7 separate regions of the Homo sapiens genome follow, and all the other regions are linked to region 2. The links are contacts of gene promoters, found by promoter capture Hi-C in human tissues and cell types (Jung and others, 2019). All regions are on one chromosome and are shown on one strand. The core of a region is centred on a gene start or on the middle of the fragment in contact, and the rest is flanking DNA. Distances in the headings are between cores, read along the strand shown. Region 1 has its middle 20 kb from the start of C8orf33. Region 2 holds the start of ZNF7 (zinc finger protein 7). Region 3 overlaps ARHGAP39 (Rho GTPase activating protein 39). Region 4 holds the start of C8orf33 (chromosome 8 open reading frame 33). Region 5 has its middle 18 kb from the start of ZNF252P-AS1. Region 6 has its middle 22 kb from the start of ZNF252P-AS1. Region 7 overlaps ARHGAP39 (Rho GTPase activating protein 39).

Evidence for each region. The method cuts DNA at HindIII sites, captures the fragments that hold promoters and counts their contacts. A contact is called where the count stands out against the background at its distance.
Region 1: a fragment that was not itself captured here is called in contact with the fragment with the promoter of ZNF7 in region 2 in 3 of the 25 tissues and cell types used here (mesenchymal stem cells, mesendoderm cells and spleen).
Region 3: a contact is called between a fragment that was not itself captured here and the fragment with the promoter of ZNF7 in region 2, in 2 of the 25 tissues and cell types used here (dorsolateral prefrontal cortex and spleen).
Region 4: a contact is called between the fragment with the promoter of C8orf33 here and the fragment with the promoter of ZNF7 in region 2, in 4 of the 25 tissues and cell types used here (dorsolateral prefrontal cortex, heart right ventricle, lymphoblastoid cells and 1 more).
Region 5: a contact is called between a fragment that was not itself captured here and the fragment with the promoter of ZNF7 in region 2, in 8 of the 25 tissues and cell types used here (H1 embryonic stem cells, dorsolateral prefrontal cortex, lymphoblastoid cells and 5 more).
Region 6: a contact is called between a fragment that was not itself captured here and the fragment with the promoter of ZNF7 in region 2, in 6 of the 25 tissues and cell types used here (H1 embryonic stem cells, IMR-90 fibroblasts, dorsolateral prefrontal cortex and 3 more).
Region 7: a contact is called between a fragment that was not itself captured here and the fragment with the promoter of ZNF7 in region 2, in 3 of the 25 tissues and cell types used here (dorsolateral prefrontal cortex, mesenchymal stem cells and spleen).

The regions. Positions count from the first base shown.
Region 1 is chr8:145,071,484-145,074,183 of GRCh38, reverse strand. No RefSeq gene overlaps it. Among named protein-coding and RNA genes, the nearest start is that of C8orf33, 20 kb to the right of the region's middle. The HindIII fragment of the contact is 6,005 bases long and covers 1-2,700 here.
Region 2 is chr8:144,826,111-144,828,810 of GRCh38, reverse strand. ZNF7 (zinc finger protein 7) reads right to left here and starts at 1,251. Exons shown (of 5, transcript NM_003416.4): 1 at 1,202-1,251. LOC100130027 (a long non-coding RNA gene) reads left to right here and starts at 1,771. Exons shown (of 5, transcript NR_147501.1): 1 at 1,771-2,700. RefSeq lists enhancers at 22-547, 548-1,073, 1,074-1,599 and a silencer at 931-2,060. The HindIII fragment of the contact is 13,991 bases long and covers 1-2,700 here.
Region 3 is chr8:144,638,845-144,641,544 of GRCh38, reverse strand. The region is part of intron 1 of ARHGAP39 (Rho GTPase activating protein 39); the gene reads left to right. Among named protein-coding and RNA genes, the nearest start is that of ARHGAP39, 46 kb to the left of the region's middle. The HindIII fragment of the contact is 3,705 bases long and covers 1-2,700 here.
Region 4 is chr8:145,051,216-145,053,915 of GRCh38, reverse strand. C8orf33 (chromosome 8 open reading frame 33) reads right to left here and starts at 1,449. Exons shown (of 5, transcript NM_023080.3): 1 at 1,419-1,449; 2 at 1,019-1,330; 3 at 770-854; 4 at 473-619. The coding sequence starts at 1,424. RefSeq lists enhancers at 75-875, 1,804-1,853, 1,894-2,023 and a silencer at 1,524-1,593. The HindIII fragment of the contact is 15,142 bases long and covers 1-2,700 here.
Region 5 is chr8:145,018,988-145,021,687 of GRCh38, reverse strand. No RefSeq gene overlaps it. Among named protein-coding and RNA genes, the nearest start is that of ZNF252P-AS1, 18 kb to the right of the region's middle. The HindIII fragment of the contact is 6,395 bases long and covers 1-2,700 here.
Region 6 is chr8:144,979,372-144,982,071 of GRCh38, reverse strand. It overlaps the pseudogene ZNF252P. Among named protein-coding and RNA genes, the nearest start is that of ZNF252P-AS1, 22 kb to the left of the region's middle. The HindIII fragment of the contact is 4,345 bases long and covers 1-2,700 here.
Region 7 is chr8:144,579,095-144,581,794 of GRCh38, reverse strand. ARHGAP39 (Rho GTPase activating protein 39) reads left to right here. Exons shown (of 12, transcript NM_025251.3): 3 at 518-949. Among named protein-coding and RNA genes, the nearest start is that of C8orf82, 51 kb to the right of the region's middle. The HindIII fragment of the contact is 7,795 bases long and covers 1-2,700 here.

The sequences.
Region 1 (2,700 bases), core at 154-2,653, 250 kb before region 2:
TAGTATTCCTATACATCAACAACAGGCAAGTAGAGAGCCAAATCATGAATGAACTTCATTCACAATTGCTACAAAGAGAATAAAATACATAGGAATACAGCTAACAAGCGAAGTGAAGAACCTCTTCAAGGAGGACTACAAACCACTGCCCAGAGAAATCAGATAGGACACAAATAAATGGAGAAGCATTCCATGCTCATGGATAGGGAAGAATTAATTCATGAAAATGGCCGTACTGCCCAAAGTAATTTATAGAAGAATTCAATGCTATTCCCATTAAACTACCAATGACATTCTTCACAGAATTAGAAGAAACTATTTTACAATTCTCATGAAGCAAAAAAGAGCCCAAATAGCCAAGACAATTCTAAGCAAAAAGAACAAAGCTGGAGGCATCACACTACCCAACTTCAAACTATACTATAAGGCTACAGTAACCAAAACAGCATGGTACTGGTACAAAAACAGACACATAGACCAATGAAACAGAATACAGAACTCTGAAATAAGACCATACACATACAACCATCTGATCTTTGACAAACCTGACAAACACAAGCAATGGGAAAGGATTCCTTATTTAATAAATCATGTTGGGAAAACTGGCTAGCCATATGCAGAAAACTGAAACTGGACATCTTCCTTACACCTTATACAAAAAAAATAACTCAAGATGGAATAAAGACTTAAACATAAGACCTAAAACCATAAAAACCCTGGAAGAAACCTTGGCAATACCATTCAGGACATAGGCATGGGCAAAGACTTTATGACTAAAACACCAAAAGCAACGGCAACAGAAGCCAAAATTGACAAATGGGATCTAATTAAACTAAAGAGCTTCTGGACAGCAAAATAAACTCATCAGAGTGAACAGACAACCTACAGACTGGGAGAAAATTTTTGCAATCTGTCTGACAAAGGGCTAATATCCAGAATCTACAAAGAACTTAAACAAATTTACAAGAAAAAAACAACCCCATCAAAAAGTGGCCAAAGGAAAAGAACAGATGCTTCTCAAAAGAAGACATTTATGTGGCCAAAAAACATATTGAAAAAAGCTCATCATCACTGGTCATTAGATAAATGCAAATCAAAACCACAATGAGATACCATCTCACACCAGTTAGAATGGCCATTATTAAAAAGTCAGGAAACAACAGATGCTGACGAGGCTGTGGAGAAATAGGAATGCTTTTACACTGTTGGTAGGAGTGTAAATTAGTTGGTAGGAGTGTAAATCCCATTATGGGGTATATACCCAAAGCATTATAAATTATTATACTATAAAGACACATGCACTGTATGTTTATTTCAGCACTCTTCACAATAGCAAAGACTTGGAACCAACCCAAATTCCCATCAATGATAAACTGGATAAAGAAAATGTGGCGCATATACACCATGGAATACTACGAATTTATGTCCTTTCCAGGGACATGGATGAAGCTGGAAACCATCATTCTCAGCAAACTAACACAAGAAAAGAAAACCAGACCAGGAGCAGTGGCTCATGCCTGTAGTCTCAGAACTTTGGGAGGCCGAGGTGGGCAGATCATCTGAGGTGGGGAGCTTGAGACCAGCCTGACCAACATGGAGAAACCCCGTCTTTACTAAAAATACACACAATTAGCCAGGCATGTTGGCACATGCCTGTAATCCTAGCTACTTGGGAGGCTGAGGCAGGAGAGTCGCTTGAACCCGGGAGGCAGAGGTTGCGGTAACCCAAGATCATGCCATTGCACTCCAACCTGGGCAACAAGAGTGAAATTTTGTCTCAAAAAAAAAAAAAGAAAGAAAAAGAAGAAAAGAAAACCAAACACTGCATGTTCTCACTTATAAGTGGGAGTTGAGCAAAGAGAACACATGGACACAGGGAGGGGAACATCACACACTGGGGCCTGTCGGGGGGTGGGAGGCTGGGGGAGGAATAGCATTAGGAGAAATACCTAATGTAGATGACGGGTTGATGGGTGCAGCAAACACCATGGCACGTGTATACCTATGTAACAAACCTGCATGCTCTGCCCATGTATCCCAGAACTTAAAGTACAACAAAGAAAATGTCACATAAATGCATAAAGTCTAGAACAGCTAATAAATTATAATGAAATGTCAACTATAATTCCAGCTCAAAGAGAACACCATGAAACCGTCTGAAACCTGGGAGGCAAGACCAAGCCCAGACAACCCTTGCAGAGTGACCCTGAAGAAGACGACAAGCCCTGCTCCAGTCACACCCGGAAGCTGACTGGTCCACGCACGGCCGAAGCATGAGGAAGCTCATCGTGGGATTCATTTTTCTTAAATTTTGGACTTACACAGTAAGGGCTTCAATTGACCTTACTCAAACTGGGGACTGTTCCCAGAGTATTCATCAGGTCACCGAGGTAGGACAGCAAATTAAAACAAACTTTCTGTTCTATAGTTATTATGAATGTATGGGAACATTAAAAGAAACTTGTTTGTATAATGCCACTCAGTACAAGGTATGTAGCCCAGGAAATGACCGACCCGATGTGTGTTATAACCCATCTGAGCCCCCTGCAACCACCGTTTTTGAAATAAGATTAAGAACTGGCCTTTTCCTAGGTGACACAAGTAAAATAATAACTAGAACAGTAGAAAAAGGAAGCCCCAAACAAATAACTTTAAGATTTGATGCTCGTGCAGCCATTAATAGTAACAAGTTAGGAACAC
Region 2 (2,700 bases), core at 2-2,501:
GTAAGAAGTGGATGCCACGTGCCAGGCACTGAGTAATGGGGATACAGTAGTGGACACGAGGACCCTGCCTTCACGAAGCAGTCTGGCGGAGGAAAGAGTTAAATAACCACACAAATAAGCACACTGCAACCACGACAGCGCTCAAGTACAGGGAACTATGAAAGCCACTTAGACTAGAACGTTCAGTGTAATGGGTCACTTCCCCAGGGACCTCGGCCAAGGTAATGGAGGTGGAGAGAGCACTCCAGGCAGCAGGAATAGCATGTGAAAGGGCCTGAAGCAAGAAGAAATGGGGTTGGATGAACCAGTGTGGGTAAATTCCCGGCAGCAAGGGAAGGCAGTGAGCGACTGGAGGTTGGGGAAGGCAGTGAGCGACTGGAGGTTGGAGAAGGCAGGAGCAAAAATGACAAACTGTAGGGAAGACAAGAGTGGACATGGAAACCCCTGCCCTCAAGTACATAAATTCCAGTCTCCAGCTCACCTGTCGCCAGGATGGAACCAGGCACAGGGATGTAATCTGATATAAATCGTTCACCTCAATTAAGCCAATGACCCCAGACCCTCTACCTGCCCAGGCATTCCCCCGGGAGGTCGGAATGGGAAAAAGAGTCTTCGTATGGCAGCTTCTGGCCCAGAAAGTGGTTTGTGGGTGGAAGCCCCAGGTCACCGGCACAGGTAGGCTGATCCCCCCACCTGGCTCCTGACAGTAGGAATGCCCGGAATAGCAACCAGAATTTAGAGAAGACAAACAGCCTACCCCACCCAAGGCACCGTTCCTTCCTCCACTGTCACTTATCCTAGGCCTTCCGGGGCAATAAATAGAAAGAGAAAAGGCTCTAGAAGGAGGTGATTTCGCAGGAGGAGTCAGGGCCCCGGGAGTAGACCCAGGCCTGAAGAAAAGGCCGCAGCTGGAGCTCGCCTTACTCAGGCCCCGGACACCGTGGCCGCCACGAGCGGGGTCTGCGGGGAGCTGCGAGACTCGGCCAAACGAAGCCCACCTCGCGCCGCCGCGGGGGAGGGTGGCTGGGCTCGACCACCTCCCACACCAGGCGCTCAAGGCCCCGCAAAGCCCCCGCGCTTTCCCGCCTGGAGGCCCGGGGGACGCGGGGACCCCAATGCCGAAGGCGGGAGGGCTAAGGAAGCGACCAGGGATCACTCGGACCGAGGGCAACCCGAGTCCGCGCCCGCCGCGCCGACTCACCCTCCCTGAGGACCACCCGAGGCTCGCAAACGCGCGACGCCGCCGGAAACGGGCCTTGGCCACCCGCGTCCGCCCCGCCCCGCAAACTTCCGGCCGCCCTGGGCCGCTCGGAGGCCCGGCCATCTCTGTGGTTCTCAGCCCCGCCTCCCAGGCTCCGGAGAAGGGGTGGAGTCAGAGCCGAGGAGGGGCGAGGCTGGGGCCCGAGGGACAAGAACCTGGGCGGGACCAGAAGCCCAGATAGGCGGGGCTGGCGCCTGGGGGCGGGGTACAGTCAGAGGCGGGCAGGGGGCGGAGCCGCGAGGGAGAGGAGGGCCCAGAGCCCGGAGTGGGCGGTGCCTGAGCAGGGGCGGGGCGGGGCCGGGGCCTGGAGCTGGGGACGCGGGCCGGGGCCGGGAGTTGCGGACTCGCTGGCGGGTGGGAGGAGCGGAGTCGGGGCGAGGCTGGCGGAGATCCAGGGGATCGCCCGGTTGGGCCCTGCGCACCCCGGATCACCAGCTTCGGGCGCTGGTTCCCACCGAGGCTGTTCAGGCGCCGCTCCCCCGCGTCCCTGCGACAGGAGGCGCCTGCTGGGCGCGCTATGGACCCCGCCTCGCGGAGACGCCTGGCTCGGGCCTTGTCCCCAGTGAGCGGCTGGAGCGGCCGCGGGGTCGCAGAGCCTCCGGGACCCCGAGGAAGGGCGCCCCTCGGAGTTGCCCGAGGCCGGGCCCGGCGTCCACTCGCCACTCGCCTCGCCCCTCCCCGGCCCCGCACCGCCCTCCACCCCGCCTCCTTCGGGTTCCTTCTGCGTCCGGCAGAGCCTGCGCGCCTCCCCCGGACGGCCACGGACTCGCAGCCTCGGCGAGGACGCTGCCTGCGTCCCGACTGCCTGGACCTCCCCGCGTGGCTCCCGGCGAAGCCCAGCAGCCGGAGGGTGCCAGGTCCGCCTGACGCGCCCCTCCCCACGGGAAGAACGGGGCGGGGGTCCAGGAGGGACGTAAGCCGGGCTCCCCCGGCGTGTTGATCCGAACCCGCGCGGGAAAACTTGCGCAAACCAAAGGAGGGAAGAGTCAGGCAGCCCCCAGCCCCCCAGGGAGGCCCAGGTGAAAAACAGACGCCGGCCTCGCCTCTCCCGGTGCGGATGATCCCGGCACTCCCACCCCCGCCCCTGCTGCCCCGAGTTCGGCTCCCTCAGCCCCACATCCTCTCTGGTCATCTAAGTGGACTGCAGCTGCTCAGGGAGCATGTCGCGAAGGATAGGGAAGGACAGGGGGTCTGCTTCCCCAGCCGCCCTCCAGACCCCCAGGGCTGGTAGGGGCCGGCAACCCTATGCCCCAACCTGGCCTGCTGCAGGTGAGGGGGGCACACCAGGGTAACACAGGAGCAGGAGGGGGAGAAAGCCTGGCTAGAGCATCCACCTCATAGGCACCTTCCTTGTGTCCAGGGTGCAGATGCCAGGGCTCTGAGGCCCTGAGGTCCTGTCTGGGGCGAGGGGGCTTCCTCCATCCACTGCATCCACTGCC
Region 3 (2,700 bases), core at 44-2,543, 190 kb after region 2:
GAGGGGATGCCAGGAGACAGGTCAGGTGGTGCTGCCAGGGCCCTGCCTGAGCTCCTGCCTCGGGAGTTGGCCACCTGGGCGCCACTGCATTCCTCCTCGATGTGAGCATGGTGGGGTCTTGGTGGTCAGCTTCGCTTTACCAGCCCATCATCTGCCTGCGTCTGCATCTCCATGTTGTCTCATTTCTGCTTGACAGATTGTAGCAGCCAGTTATACAACATAAAGAGTTAATTTTCATTCCATAAAGAATTTAATAGCGTCTGCCTCTCCTTTCCCGTCCTCTGGTGCCTTGAGGGCCAGAGACCGGTGCCCCAGGGTCCCAGATGTCATAGACTAGAACCTGAGAACCAGAAGCCGGTGTGGTCTTTCCCCCCGTGATCCTGTGGCAGAACAGGTGGATGGTGGATGAAAGCTTTCAGATGTCACCTCCTGGAACACCTCTGCAAGAACTGGTGCTGGGATGGGCCCAGGCAGATGAGAAATAAAAATATCTAGTTGAGTGTACATTTTATTATTGTAGGAAATAAGAAATAGAGTAATGTCTATATAGATGAAGAGTGGGACCCTCACAATGTTGATTTCTATGTACTAGGGTCTGATGAAATGAAAGCAACTAGAACAGAGCATTTAGCGAGGTTAAAACAGACAACTAACTGTGTGAATCGGAAAACGTGGCTTCGTTTTCAACAATGTTTCGTGGGACGCTTATCTAATACCTAATGGCTATTTATCGGGATTTAGAGAGGTTAAAACAGACAACTGTGTGAATCGAAAACTCGGCTTCGTTTTCAACAATGTTTTATGGGATGCTTATCTAATACCTAATGGGTATTTATCGGGAAAACACTTCTTTACTGCAGTGTTGTGACATTTTTTGTTGTTTCTGCTAAATCTACATTGAAGTGTTGCTTTGTAAGTGTGCTGTATTAGTCTGTTTTCAAGCTGCTGATAAAAACATACCTGAGACTGGGTAATTTATACAGGAAAAAGGGTTTAATGGACTTACACAGTTCCACATGGCTGGGGAGGCCTCACAATCATGGTGCAAGGCAAGGAGGAGCAAGTCACGTCTTACCTGGATGGCAGCAGGCAAAGAGGAGAGCTTGTGCAGGGAGACTCCCATTTTTAAAACCATCAGATCTCGTGAGACTCATTCACTATCACGAAAACAGCATGGGAAAGACCCACCCCTATGATTCAATTATCTCCCACCAGGTCGCTCCCCCAACATGTGGGAATTATGGGAGCTACAAAATGAGATTTGGGTGGGGACACAGAGCCAAACCACATCATGTGCCATGAAAACTGTCCCTGTCAGTCCCCCGTGTGCAACTGAGCCACGCGAGAGTCCAAAAACAGGTGGGTGCTTGTTTGAACGTGTTTGTGTTTAGCCAATCCCTGGTGTCATGGAGCTTCTAAAATAGCATAGATTACTCGATCTGGCTTTTGGCAGAAATGGTTTTCCATATTTTCTGCATGTCGCCTGTAATATATTCTACAGAGAGCAAGGGTAGTTCTTGCATCCGTAACCCATTCCTGAAAACCAGACGTCTTGCATGAAAATGCTGTCTTTTTCATGTTAAATAGGAAAAGCCAGTAAATTATTGTGTCAGTGCAACCAGTTTCCTAAGACAAAGCATCCGTGTAACAAACACCCTTTATACAAGAAACAGGCTATTGTGTGAGGATGTTAATGTTTTAAATGCGGCTTCCTGACACTGGACAGCCGAGGTGAAGCTTTCACTGTTGCTTTTCCCAGGGTGACATTGAGAGGCCTGTTTGTGTCAGCATCATCCACGCAGCACGTGCTCTGCTCACATCCACGTGTGTGATTGTGGCGTCTTCTACTTGTATCTGAAATGCAACTTGAGGATTTTTTTTTTCTCCCCTGCACTTCATTTTGTTAAAATGTTGGTTTTGTTTCTTGATGTAAATACAAAATTTACCGTGGCAACCATTGACAGGAATACGTATTGGAAGAATCATATGGTTTGTGAACTTATAAACTGTCAAAAATAAAAAGATGCTCTACCAAGAAATGTTGACCAGGAAGACATCTGTGCGGTGTGCCTGTAATATGGTTAATGTTAACAGATGATGATTTAAGAAGTTCTTTTTTTATATTTTGAAATAGTTTTTGTGATAGAAATGAAATTTAAATTAATTCAAAAATATTTCTTTTCTTTCTTTCTTTCTTTCTTTCTTTTTTTTTTTTTTTTGAGACAGCATCTCGCTCTGTCACCCAGGCTGGAGTGCAGTGGTGCGATCTCAGCTCACTGCAACCTCCACCTCCCGGGCTCAAGTGATTCTCCTGCCTCAGCCTCCCAAGTAGCGGGGACTCAGGCATGTACCACCATGCCCGGCTAATTTTTGTATTTTTAGTAGAGGTGGAGTTTCACCATGTTGGTCAGACTGGTCTCAAACTCCTGACCTCAAGTGATCTACCTGCCTCGGCCTCCCAAAGTGTCGGGATTACAGGCGTGAGCCACCGCTCCTGGCCCGTGCCGAAGGTAATTTTTAAAAAAAGCATACTGGCTTCCAGGTAAGGGTGGCAGAGTGAAAACAAATGCAGTGTCACTCTTTCCCAAGCCTTTGCTAAGTGAACAGCAAAGTGATGTTTTAAAAAGTCAGACTCACAGGGAATGGGTGAAGTGGGAGAGAAGACAGTAGTGAAGTTCTGGAAGCTGGGAAGCAGATGGG
Region 4 (2,700 bases), core at 200-2,699, 220 kb before region 2:
TAACTGATTAATTCCTCAAATTTGTAAGGTTGATATTACTATCATCCCCCACTTAGAGAGGTTCAGTAGTTTGCAAAAGGTGTTAGTACTACTATGTGGTAGATCCAGGATTTGAACCTAGCTGATCTGGCCCCAGGAATTGCACTCAAACTGTTATGGGATATGGCTTCATTGCTAGTAGAGAAAGCCAAGACACAAAGACATGAGGCAGCTTTCCCCAACCCAGGAGCAGGACCAACATAGGACCATGCTCTTTCCCACTCCTCCCAGGGCCTCCCCGCTGCTTCCCAGGTTCAGTCCTAGGAAGAGGAAAGAGAGGTCCACGCTTTCTGTTTCCCTGCTCCCTCAGGCTTCCCTGAGCCCATCTCCTTCCCCCACCAGGCTTGTTGCTCTGGGCCTTCTTCCTTTCACCCCCTAGACACTTCCTCCTTAAGTTAGGCCTTCCTGAATCAACCAGTGGCTAGCTCCTCACCAGCTCTGAGAGCCCGCAGGGCCTCACGCCATTCGGCTTCCATCTGAGCCCTATAGTCTCCAAACAAGGAGTGCATCAGCTGCCTCTTCCGGGGCAAGGGCGTTCTTTTGCTGCGCAGGGTTCGGATTGCTCCAATAGCCTGCTCTTCTGCGAATAAAAATAAAGGACTAGTGAACACCTCTATTACTGACCTCCTACCACCCCGCCGCAAAGCCAACAACTCCATACTCTGCCAGCACCTGCAGGCCAGGCAGTGCCACTGTTCACATCCCCCAGCTCTACAGAAGGGTCCCTTACTCTGTTTCGGGGTGGGTTTCTGCCTCTTGAGGCCCAGCTCCAGTTGCTCCACACACCAAGCCAATTCCTGGGCCAACTGTTGTGCCTGTGATGGATTTGGGGAAGTGGCTGTGAGAGGGCACTGGAAAACCATAGCCGCCGGCCCCATCCCATGCCCCTCCCCGCCTTAACTCCGCGGACCCCAGATCACACGTGCCCGTGGATTCGCACCCGTGGATTCCACCCTTCCCGACCGAAGCCCGCCCTTGCCTGGGCCTCAGCGCTTAGGGGAACTTCTTCTGGGGCGAGTTTCTCTGAGGCCTTCTCGCCTCCATTTGCCACAGAGGCCCTGTTCCGCGTTTTCTTCTTATTCTTTTGTTTTTTCGACGCTGTGCCGCCTTCATCGCCCAACGGGTGCGCTCTGGAGTCAGCGTTACTGCACGTAGGTTGCTCTGGGCAGAGACAGACAGTGGAAGGATTCCGGGCGCTGGAAACTGGGCCGGGAAGCCGGGCTCCGCGGGACGCGCAGGGAGTACCCGGGCCTGGGGCCGCCGCTGCCTCCCCAGCAAGATGTCCCAGGGCCTGGAGAAAGGGGGGTAGCACGAGGGTCACCGAGAGCCGCCAACAATGCAAGGCCCAGCCACCCGCGCGTCTTCTCCACACCGCTCACCGCCATGCGCCGCAGTCGCCACCGGAACTACGCGGGGCGCAGAGTCCGACGCCGAATTCCGTCCTTCAAGAACGCGCCTGCGACTCTAGGTTCCGCGGGGCGCGGGCGGGGCGCGGGCGGGGCGCGGGCGGGGCGCGGGCGGGGCGCGGGCGGGGCGCGGGCGGGGCGCGGGCGGGGCGCGGGCGGGGCGCGGGCGGGGCGCGGGCGGGGCGGGGCGCGGGCGGGGCGCGGGCGGGGCGGGGAGCGGGCGGGGCGGGGCGCGGCTGGGGTGGGATGAAGCTGGGACGGGGCGAAGCTGGGACGCGCCTGGGACGAAGCTGAGATGGGGCTGGGGCGGGGCCTGGGGGTTCGGGGAAGAGGCTGAAGAGGGGTCTCGGAAGAACCCTTGTGAGCGAGTGATCGCGGGCGCTGACTACGTGCCCGGCACCTTTCCGGATAAAAGTTCAAAGCTCTCCACGAGGGTGTGTCTTCTCAAGGCTCACCTTTTGGTGGGGAGGGAAAAGCAAGTAAACAGCACGTGAGCAGCTACGGCGCAAGAGGGTGGTCGGCAAAGACCCTGGGAAATGGGGAAGAGCGAGGGTCAGGGCGCGGTCGTTTGAGAGGCCGGCGTCTCGGGACGTGGAGGCTCGGGTGAGGTCTGAGAGTTGGGAGGGCCCCCGTCATGGGCTTACTTCCGTTCTAACGCAGTGGGAAGTCGCTGCAAGATGTAAATCTGAAGAGTGGCATAATCGTAGACGTATGTTCTGCAGATCTCTCTGCTCTTGTGTAACGAGTGGGGCACATGGGGTGGAGGGACGTGGAGGGGTTTCAGAAGCAGACGCGGGAAGAGCCTTGGACAGGATATGGACGTGAGGGAGGGTGGCGGTATGGGGGAGAGGGAGAGCCCCATCCCACCACCTCTCTTCCCCTGGATGCTTCCCTCCCACTATACCTTGCTAGAGACCTGGGGTCACACACAACACTCGACCCCCGCCGATGGAGGCATGACAACCGAGAGGAATTGCGTAGGGGTTGAGGTGAGGCTGAGTAGGGTTTCAGGGGGGCAACGGGCTATGCCAGGAGGGTGGGTTGTGTTGCTTGAGAAGGTAAGAGTCCGAGATGTCTGATGATTCCTTTCGGGGACACAGGAGTGGAAAGCGGTGTTTCCTGAGACGGTGGGGTGGGAAGTGTTAGCTGCCTGGTCTGCAAGGTCTCGAAGGGTTACAGTTTGGTCATCACTGATAGTTATTTACTGCAGTGTGATACATTACTCCCAAAATTCGGCGGATTGGCCGGGCGCGGT
Region 5 (2,700 bases), core at 98-2,597, 190 kb before region 2:
TGAGATAGGAGAAAAACCGCCCTATGGTGGGAGGTGAGACATGTTGGCAGCAATGCTGCCTTGTTATTCTTTACTCCACTGAGATGTTTGGGTGGAGAGAAACATAAATCTGGCCTATGTGCACATCCAGGCATAGTACTTTCCCTTGAACTTAATTATGACATAGATTCCTTTGCTCACATGCTTTTTGCTGACCTTCTCCTTATTATCACCCTGCTCTCCTACTACATTCCTTTCTGCTGAAATCATGAAAATAATAATCAATAAAAACTGAGGGAACTCAGAGACCGGTGCCGGTGCAGGTCCTTGGTGTGCCGAGTGCCGCTCTCCTGGGCCCACTGTTGTTTCTCTATACTTTGTCACTGTGTCTTATTTCTTTTCTCAGTCTCCCATCCCACCTGACTAGAAATACCCACAGGTGTGGAGGGGCAGGCCACCCCTTCAGATTATCAAGAACTCCAATGAAGCCAGCTAAATCTATTTGCCAATTGACTGAATTAACAAAGGCTTTCCAAATCTGATTTTTATTCATTGGAACTATAATCTTATCTGGATCTGAGCCACAAAGTTTAACAACTCTAAGGTGAGCTTGCCCAATCAAGATTGCCATCTGATCCAAGTATACTGTGAGTGTTCTAACAGTATTGTGAGGCAGAAAAGACCATTCAACTAAGTCCTCACTCTGAACTGTAACCCCTGTAGAAGAATGGAGAGTAGGGAACACAATGAACTGTAATGGTAAATTTGAGTCTATTCTATTAACCTGGGCCTGTTGTATTTTTTCTTCAATCATTTGTAATTCTTTGGCAGTCTCAGGAGTCAGTTCTCATTTACTATTGAGAGCAGGGTCACCTCTTAAAATAGAGAACAGATTAGACATAGCATAGGTAGGGATTCCCAAAGGAGGTCAAATCCAATTGATATCCCCTAATAATTTTTGAAAATCATTTAAAGTTTTCAGAGAGTCTTTTTGAATTTGAACCTCTTGGGGTCTAATTGCCCTTTCCTGATCCTGCATTCCCAAATATTGGAAAGGAGTGGATGTTTGAATTTTATCTGGTGCTATGAGCAATCCAGCATTGGCTACCACCTCCTGTAAATATGAATAACACTGGATAAGTCAGTCTTAACTTTTGACCGTACCCAATATGTCATCCATAAAATGAATGATATATGAATCAGGAAACTGATCTCTCACAGGTGGAATAGCCTTCCCCACAAAAGTTTGACAAATAGTAGGACTATTCAACATATCCTGCAGCAGGACTTTCCAATGATATCTGGCTGCTGGTTCCTTGTTGTTCATAGCAGGAATAGTAAAAGCAAATTTCACAAAATCAGACTCTGCTAGAAGAATATTTAAAAAGCAATCCTTCAAATCTATAATTACTAATGGCCAGTCTCTAGGAATCATGGTGGGGGATAGAAGCCCCAGCTGCAGGGCCCCAATCAGCTGAATGAATGTGTTCACCACACGTAAGTCGGTTAGCATGCGCCATCTGCTGGATTTTTTCTTTATTACAAACACCGGCAAATTCTATGGAGAAAATGTGGGCTCAATGCTTCCTTTGTTTAATTGCTCTTTGACTAATTCCTGTAAGGCCCCCAATTTTTCCTGAGTAAGTGGCCACAGCTCAACCCAAACAGGATTTTGGGTCTTCCATTTTAAGGGAATAGGACTTGGAGGCTCAACAGTGACCACCCCTAAAAATGGTAACCTACATGGGAGGTTCCAAGATGGCCAAATAGGAACAGTTCCAGTCTAGAGCTCCCAGCATGAGCGATGCAGAAGACAGGTGATTTCTGCATTTCCAACTGAAATACCAGGTTCATCTCACTGGAGCTTGTCAGACAGTGGGTGCAGGACAGTGGGTGCAGCCCACCGAGTGAGACCTGAAGCAGGGCAAGGCACCACCTCACCTGGGAAGTGCAAGGGGTCAGGGAATTCCCTTTCCTAGCCAAGGGAAGCTGTGACAGATGGCACCTGGAAAATCGGGTCACTCCCACCCTAATACTGTGCTGTTCCAATGGTCTTAGCAAATGGCACACCAGGAGATTATTTCCTACACCTGGCTTGGAGGGTCCCACACCCATGGAGCCTTGCTCATTGCTAGCACAGCAGTCTGAGATCGAACTGCAAGGTGGCAGCAAGGCTGGGGGAGGGGCGCCCACCATTGCTGAGACTTCAGTAGGTAAACAAAGCGGCTGGGAAGCTTGAACTGGATGGAGCCCACTGCAGCTCAAGGAGGCCTACCAGCCTCTGCAGACTCCACCTCTGGGTGCAGGGCATAGCTGAACAAAAGGCAGCAGAATCTTCTGCAGACTTAAATGTCCCTGTCTGACAGCTTTGAAGAGAGTAGTGGTTCTCCCAGCATGGAGTTTGAGATCTGAGAACAAACAGACTGCCTCCTCAAGTGGCTCCCTGACACCTGAGTACCCTAACTGGGAGGCACCTCCCAGTAGGGGCTGACTGATACCTCACACGGCCGGGTACCCCTCTGAGATGAAGCTTCCAGAGGAATGATCAGGCAGCAACATTTGCTATTCTGCAATATTCGCTATTCTGTAGCCTCTACTGGTCATATCCAGGCAAACAGGATCTAGAGTGGACCTCCAGCAAACTCCAACAGACCTGCAGCTGAGGGTTCTGACTATTAGAAGGAAAACTAACAAACAAAAAGTACATCCACACCAAAACCC
Region 6 (2,700 bases), core at 55-2,554, 150 kb before region 2:
TACAACTCTGTTCTCATCCACCTCCTTTGTGCTGTTGTCATATATAATACATTTTTACATCTTAAAGCCTAAACAATATAACTATATAAATTCGATTTATAAAATTGCTTTTTAAATTAATTAAGAGAGATGAAAAACATATATTTATACTTTCATATAATTAAAGAATTACCTTCATCTTTATTCTTTGTGTTTTGGGTGGGTTCTCATTTCTATCTGTGTTTACTTGCTTCCAACCTGAAGAATTTTCTTTGGTTTTTTTTTAAGGTGCATCTAGCAGCAATAAATTATGTTTATATTTATCTGGTAATGCTTTTATTTCATCTTCACTTTTGAAAGATAATTTGCTGGATAGAAACTTCTTTTTTCTTCTTCTTCTTTTTTAGAGACAGTCTCACTCTGTTGCCCAGGCTGGAGTACAGTGGCATGATCTCAGCTCACTGCAGCCTCCACCTCCTGGGTTCAAGTGATTCTCCTGCCTCAGCCTCCTGAGTAGCTGGGATTATAGGCATGCACCACCATACCCAGCTTTTTTTTTTAATAGAGGTGGGGTTTCACCATGTTTGCCAGGCTGGTCTCGAACTCCTGATCTCAGGTGATCCATCCACTTTGGCCTCCTGAATTGCTGGGATTATAGGTGTGAGCCAACATACTTGGCCAGGATAGAAAATTCTTGGTTGAGAGTCTTTTTCTTTCAGAACTTTGAATATGTTATCCACTGTCTTCTGACCTCCATTAGTTCTGATAAGAAGTCTGCTGTTTATCTTATTGGGGCACCCTTGTACATGATAAGTTGTTTTTCTCTTGCTTTCAAGATTTTCTCCTTGTCATTAACATTTAACGTTTTTACCATGATGTTTCTGAGTGTTGGTATCTTTGTGTTTATCCCATTTGGAGTTCTTTGGGCCTCTTGGATGTGCAGTTTAATGTTTTCCAGGAAATATCAGAAGTTTCCCACCATTATTAAAGTATTTCTTAAATTGTGGTAAAATTATATAACATGAGGATCAGTCTACATTCTTAAACACTTTTAAGTATACAATACAATAGCAAAATGCTGTAGAGCAGGTCTCTGGAACTTTCTCAAAACCTTGCATGACTGAAACCCTGTACCCACTGAATAGCAACTCCCCATTTCTCCCTCTCCCCAACCCCTGGCAACCAACCCCTGGCAACCACGATTGCACTTTTTGTTTCTATCAGTTTGACTATTTTAGATACTTCATTTAAGTGGAACTGTGCAGTATTCATCCTTCTATGATGTCTTATTTCACTTAGCATAATGTCCTCAGAGTTCATTTGTGTAGTTGCATAGGACAGGATTTTCTTCTACAATATTTTATGGCTGAATATTTCATCATATGGATATACCAGATTTTCTTTATACATCCATCTGTTGATGGACATCTAGGTTGTTTCCACCTCTTGGCTATTGTGAATAATGCTGCAGTGAACATGGGAGTGCAAACCTATCTTCAAGATTCTGATATTGGCTGGGTACGGTGGCTCACACCTGTAATCCCAACACTTTGGGAGGCCAAGGTGGGCAGATCATGAGGTCAAGAGATCAAGACCATCCTGGCCAACATGGTGAAATCCTGTCTCTACTAAAAATACAAAAATTAGCTGGGCATGGTGGCATGTGCCTGTAATCCCAGCTACTCAGGAGGCTGAGGCAGGAGGATCACTTGAACCCAGGAGGCAGAGGTTGTGGTGAGCCAAGATTGTGCCATTGCACTCCAGCCTGGGCAACAGGAGCAAAAAAACTCTGTCTCAAAAAAAAAAAAAAAGAAAGAAAGAAAGAAATTAAACACCGCCAACCAAGGATCACCAGATATCTGAGGGAAATGGCAATATGAACTTTAGTGTGAGATGTTGGTTCTTGTCTTATGGATGACTCTCTCTTATGGTTTCTCATTTTGTTCACATTTATTTTGTCTCCTCCCAGCAAAATAACACCTAATAGAATCATCTGTCAGACTTTAGTCCTGAGACTACCTTGAGGACTCAACTCCTCAGATACCTCAGAAATTTTTCTCCCTACATTCAGGATGTTTATCTTCTAGGACACTGTTTGTAGGTTTCTAGAGTAAATTATGAAGTTTGCTTTTTTCCTTTCATACTCTGAATGGCAAAATCAATCCCTCTGTAGTACCATGAGTAGTTCACAGAAATCTATTGCGATTACTTAGCTTTTTGTTTTATTTTATTTTATTTTATTATTTTATTTTATTTTATTTTATTTTTTGAGACAGAGTCTTGCTCTGTCACCCAGGCTGGACTGCAGTGGCACAATCTTGACTTACTGCAACCCCCACCTCCTGAGTTCAAGCTATTCTCCTGCCTCAGCCTCCCAAGTAGCTGGGATTAGAAGCACCCGCCACCATGCCCAGCTAAATTTTGTATTTTTAGTAGAGATGTGGTTTTGCCATGTTGGCCATGCTGGTCTAAAACTCCTGACCTCAGGTGATCCACCCGGTTTGGCCTCCCAAAGTGCTGGGATTACAAGCGTGATCCACCACACCCAGCCATACTTAACTCAATTTTAGGCCTCATCCAGTTAGTATTTTTAGCTCAGTCTCCCTGTTCAAGCAGTGCAGTCTCAAGGAGCATCCCATTATAACTAATGATAACCGCCATTTGCAAAAAGAAGATTCCATTGTCCTTTTGTGGTATCTCAACACAGGGCTGCCCTCTTAC
Region 7 (2,700 bases), core at 200-2,699, 250 kb after region 2:
CAGCTGGGCCCTTGGCCTTGCTGATCTGGGGGATCCTTGGGAGAACACAGCTTGGGAGTCCAGCAGCACTTAGCTGGGCCTGAGGCCCCTCCAGACCCCGACCCAGTGTGGAGGTGGCGGTCCAGTTGCAGCGGAGGGGCTACTGAGCAGGTGTGCAGTGATGACTCGCAGGCCTGTGCCACGATCCTGCAGGACGGAGCAGTGGGCAGTGAGGTTGTGGCCTGGGTGCCTGTGAGGACAGGAGCCTGCAACCACAGCCAGTATGTCCCTACCCCACGTGGGGCCCAGGACCCCCCAAAGGGCTGCACCACCCTGAGGCGCTGGCGGCTCCGGGGGCTTCCCCGGTTGCGGGTGCTCAGGAGCACAGCAGTCAGGGGCGGACTGGGCTTGGGTTTGCTTTCCTCTATGACAGGATTTCTGGGTTTCGCAGCTGGGGCTGGAGCCGGGGTCTGCAGGGGTGGGAGGCGCGGGCCCAGGCCGCCGTGGCTCCAGCCGCCTTAACCCTGTCTCTCCCCAGGTTGGAGTGGGTGGAGATCATCGAACCGCGCACCCGCGAGCGCATGTACGCCAACCTGGTCACCGGTGAGTGCGTGTGGGACCCGCCGGCCGGCGTCCGCATCAAGCGCACCAGCGAGAACCAGTGGTGGGAGCTGTTCGACCCCAACACGTCCCGCTTCTACTACTACAATGCCAGCACGCAGCGCACGGTGTGGCACCGGCCGCAGGGCTGCGACATCATCCCGCTGGCCAAGCTGCAGACGCTGAAGCAGAACACGGAGTCCCCGCGCGCCTCGGCGGAGAGCAGCCCCGGGCGCGGCAGCAGCGTCAGCCGTGAGGGCAGCACCAGCTCCTCCCTGGAGCCCGAGCCCGACACTGAGAAAGCGCAGGAGTTGCCAGCGAGGGCCGGGCGGCCCGCGGCGTTTGGGACAGTGAAGGAGGACAGCGGCAGGTGAGGGCGGGGGCAGCTGCTATGGGCGGGGCCAGGTGAATGGAGTGGGCGGGGCCAGGTGAGGCAGGTAGGGGGTGGTGGGCGGGGCCAGGTGAGAGCGGGACTGGTGAAGGTGGTGGGCGGGGCCAGGTTAGGAGTAGGTCGGGTATGGTGGGCGGGGCCAGGTGAGTGGAATGGGCGGGGCCACGTGAGAGCGGGACTGGTGACGGTGGTGGGCGGGGCCAGGTGAGGAGTAGGTCAGGTATGGTGGGCAGGGCCAGGTGAGGGCGGTGGGCGGGGACCCAGGGGACTCAGTGTCCCCGCGAGTGGCCAGAGCCTCGTCCTTGGCTGTAGCAGCCACCGCTGCTGTCCCCAGTGAGCACTTTCTTGTCTCTCTGGGCAGCAGAGCCTGGCGCTCAGCCTCAGAGGGTTCTGGGTCCTCCAACCCTGCCCCTCACTGGCCCAGCCCCTGGCAGGTGGTGGTTCCTGAGAGCAGTGTCTGAGGGGCTCGCCCAGCTCTCTCTGCTGATGGGAGATGCAGATGTGGGGATTTGCGTGCGGGCGTGGGGTGTGTGGACCTAGGGGGACCCAGGTGGAGGGTGTAGATCAGTGTGGACACAGCTGAGGGGTCTGAGCAGGCTTGGAGGTGGTCCTCTGGAGTCACAGTGGCTCCGAAGGAGCACAGCCTGTGTTGGTGGGAGCCCAGGAGACCCCTGCCCTCAGAAACAGGGAGAGGTCAGGGTAGAGCGCAAGGGCCTCGAGGTGAGTGCACCGTGGGAAGCGAGTCCAGAGAGGACGGTGGGGAAGAGCCGAGGCAGGCGGGCAGGACAGTGGGGAAGGGCTGAGGCAGGCGGCAGGCCAGCAGGACAGTGGGGAAGAGCCGAGGCAGGGACAGGAGGCTGGGGCTTCCCAGAGCCCAGGCTGTGGCCCAGGGCAGACAGGCCTGGCCACTGCAGGGGCGGATGGAGGCCACTCTGGAGAGGATGGAGGAGAGGCTGGACCCCAGGGAGAGAAAGGCAGGGGATTGGTCTCCCCCAGTACCAGATTTTCGGTGCTTGGCTGAGGTTGCCAGGGGAGCTGAGGCCCAGGGGCTTTCTGCAGAGGTGGGAAGGAGCGTGTTGGACTGCCGGGCTCATCTGAGGCTTCAGAAGAGGGATTCAGAGTGAACCACAGAGCTCAGAGGACAGCAGGCTTCCGTCCCACCGTGCCGAGGTGCAGGCACAGAGGGAGGCGGGCAGCAGGTTCATCCCGTGGACCCGGTCTGGCAGGATGAAAGGGAGGCCAGGGATGGGGCCTGCTGCAGAGTGGGCAGGAGGTGGGGCAAATCAGGTGTGGAGGAGCCACTGGAGCACACCGGGAAGACGGTGTTGGTGTCGGTATTCAGGGCAGGGTGAGCAGCGGAGGCTCGGGCGTGGCGTGGGTGAGCGAGCGGTGCAGAAGGCGGGCACAAAGAGGACCAGGGCCTACATTTCACATCCCACCAGCAAATATGAGGGTTCAAAGTTATCCACGGCCTTGCCAACACTACTTGCTTTCCTTTTTAGATTTCTTTTAGCTATTGTAGCCACTGTGAAATGTCTCATTGTAGTTTTGGTTTGCATTTCCTTAATGACTAATGACTTTGAGCCTTTTTTCACTTTCTTTTTTTTTTTTTTTTTTTTTTTTGAGACAGAGTCTCGCTCTGTCGCCCAGGCTGGAGTGCAGTGGCACGATTGCTGCTCACTGCAAGTTCCGCCTCCCGGGTTCACACCACTCTCCTGCCTCAGCCTCCC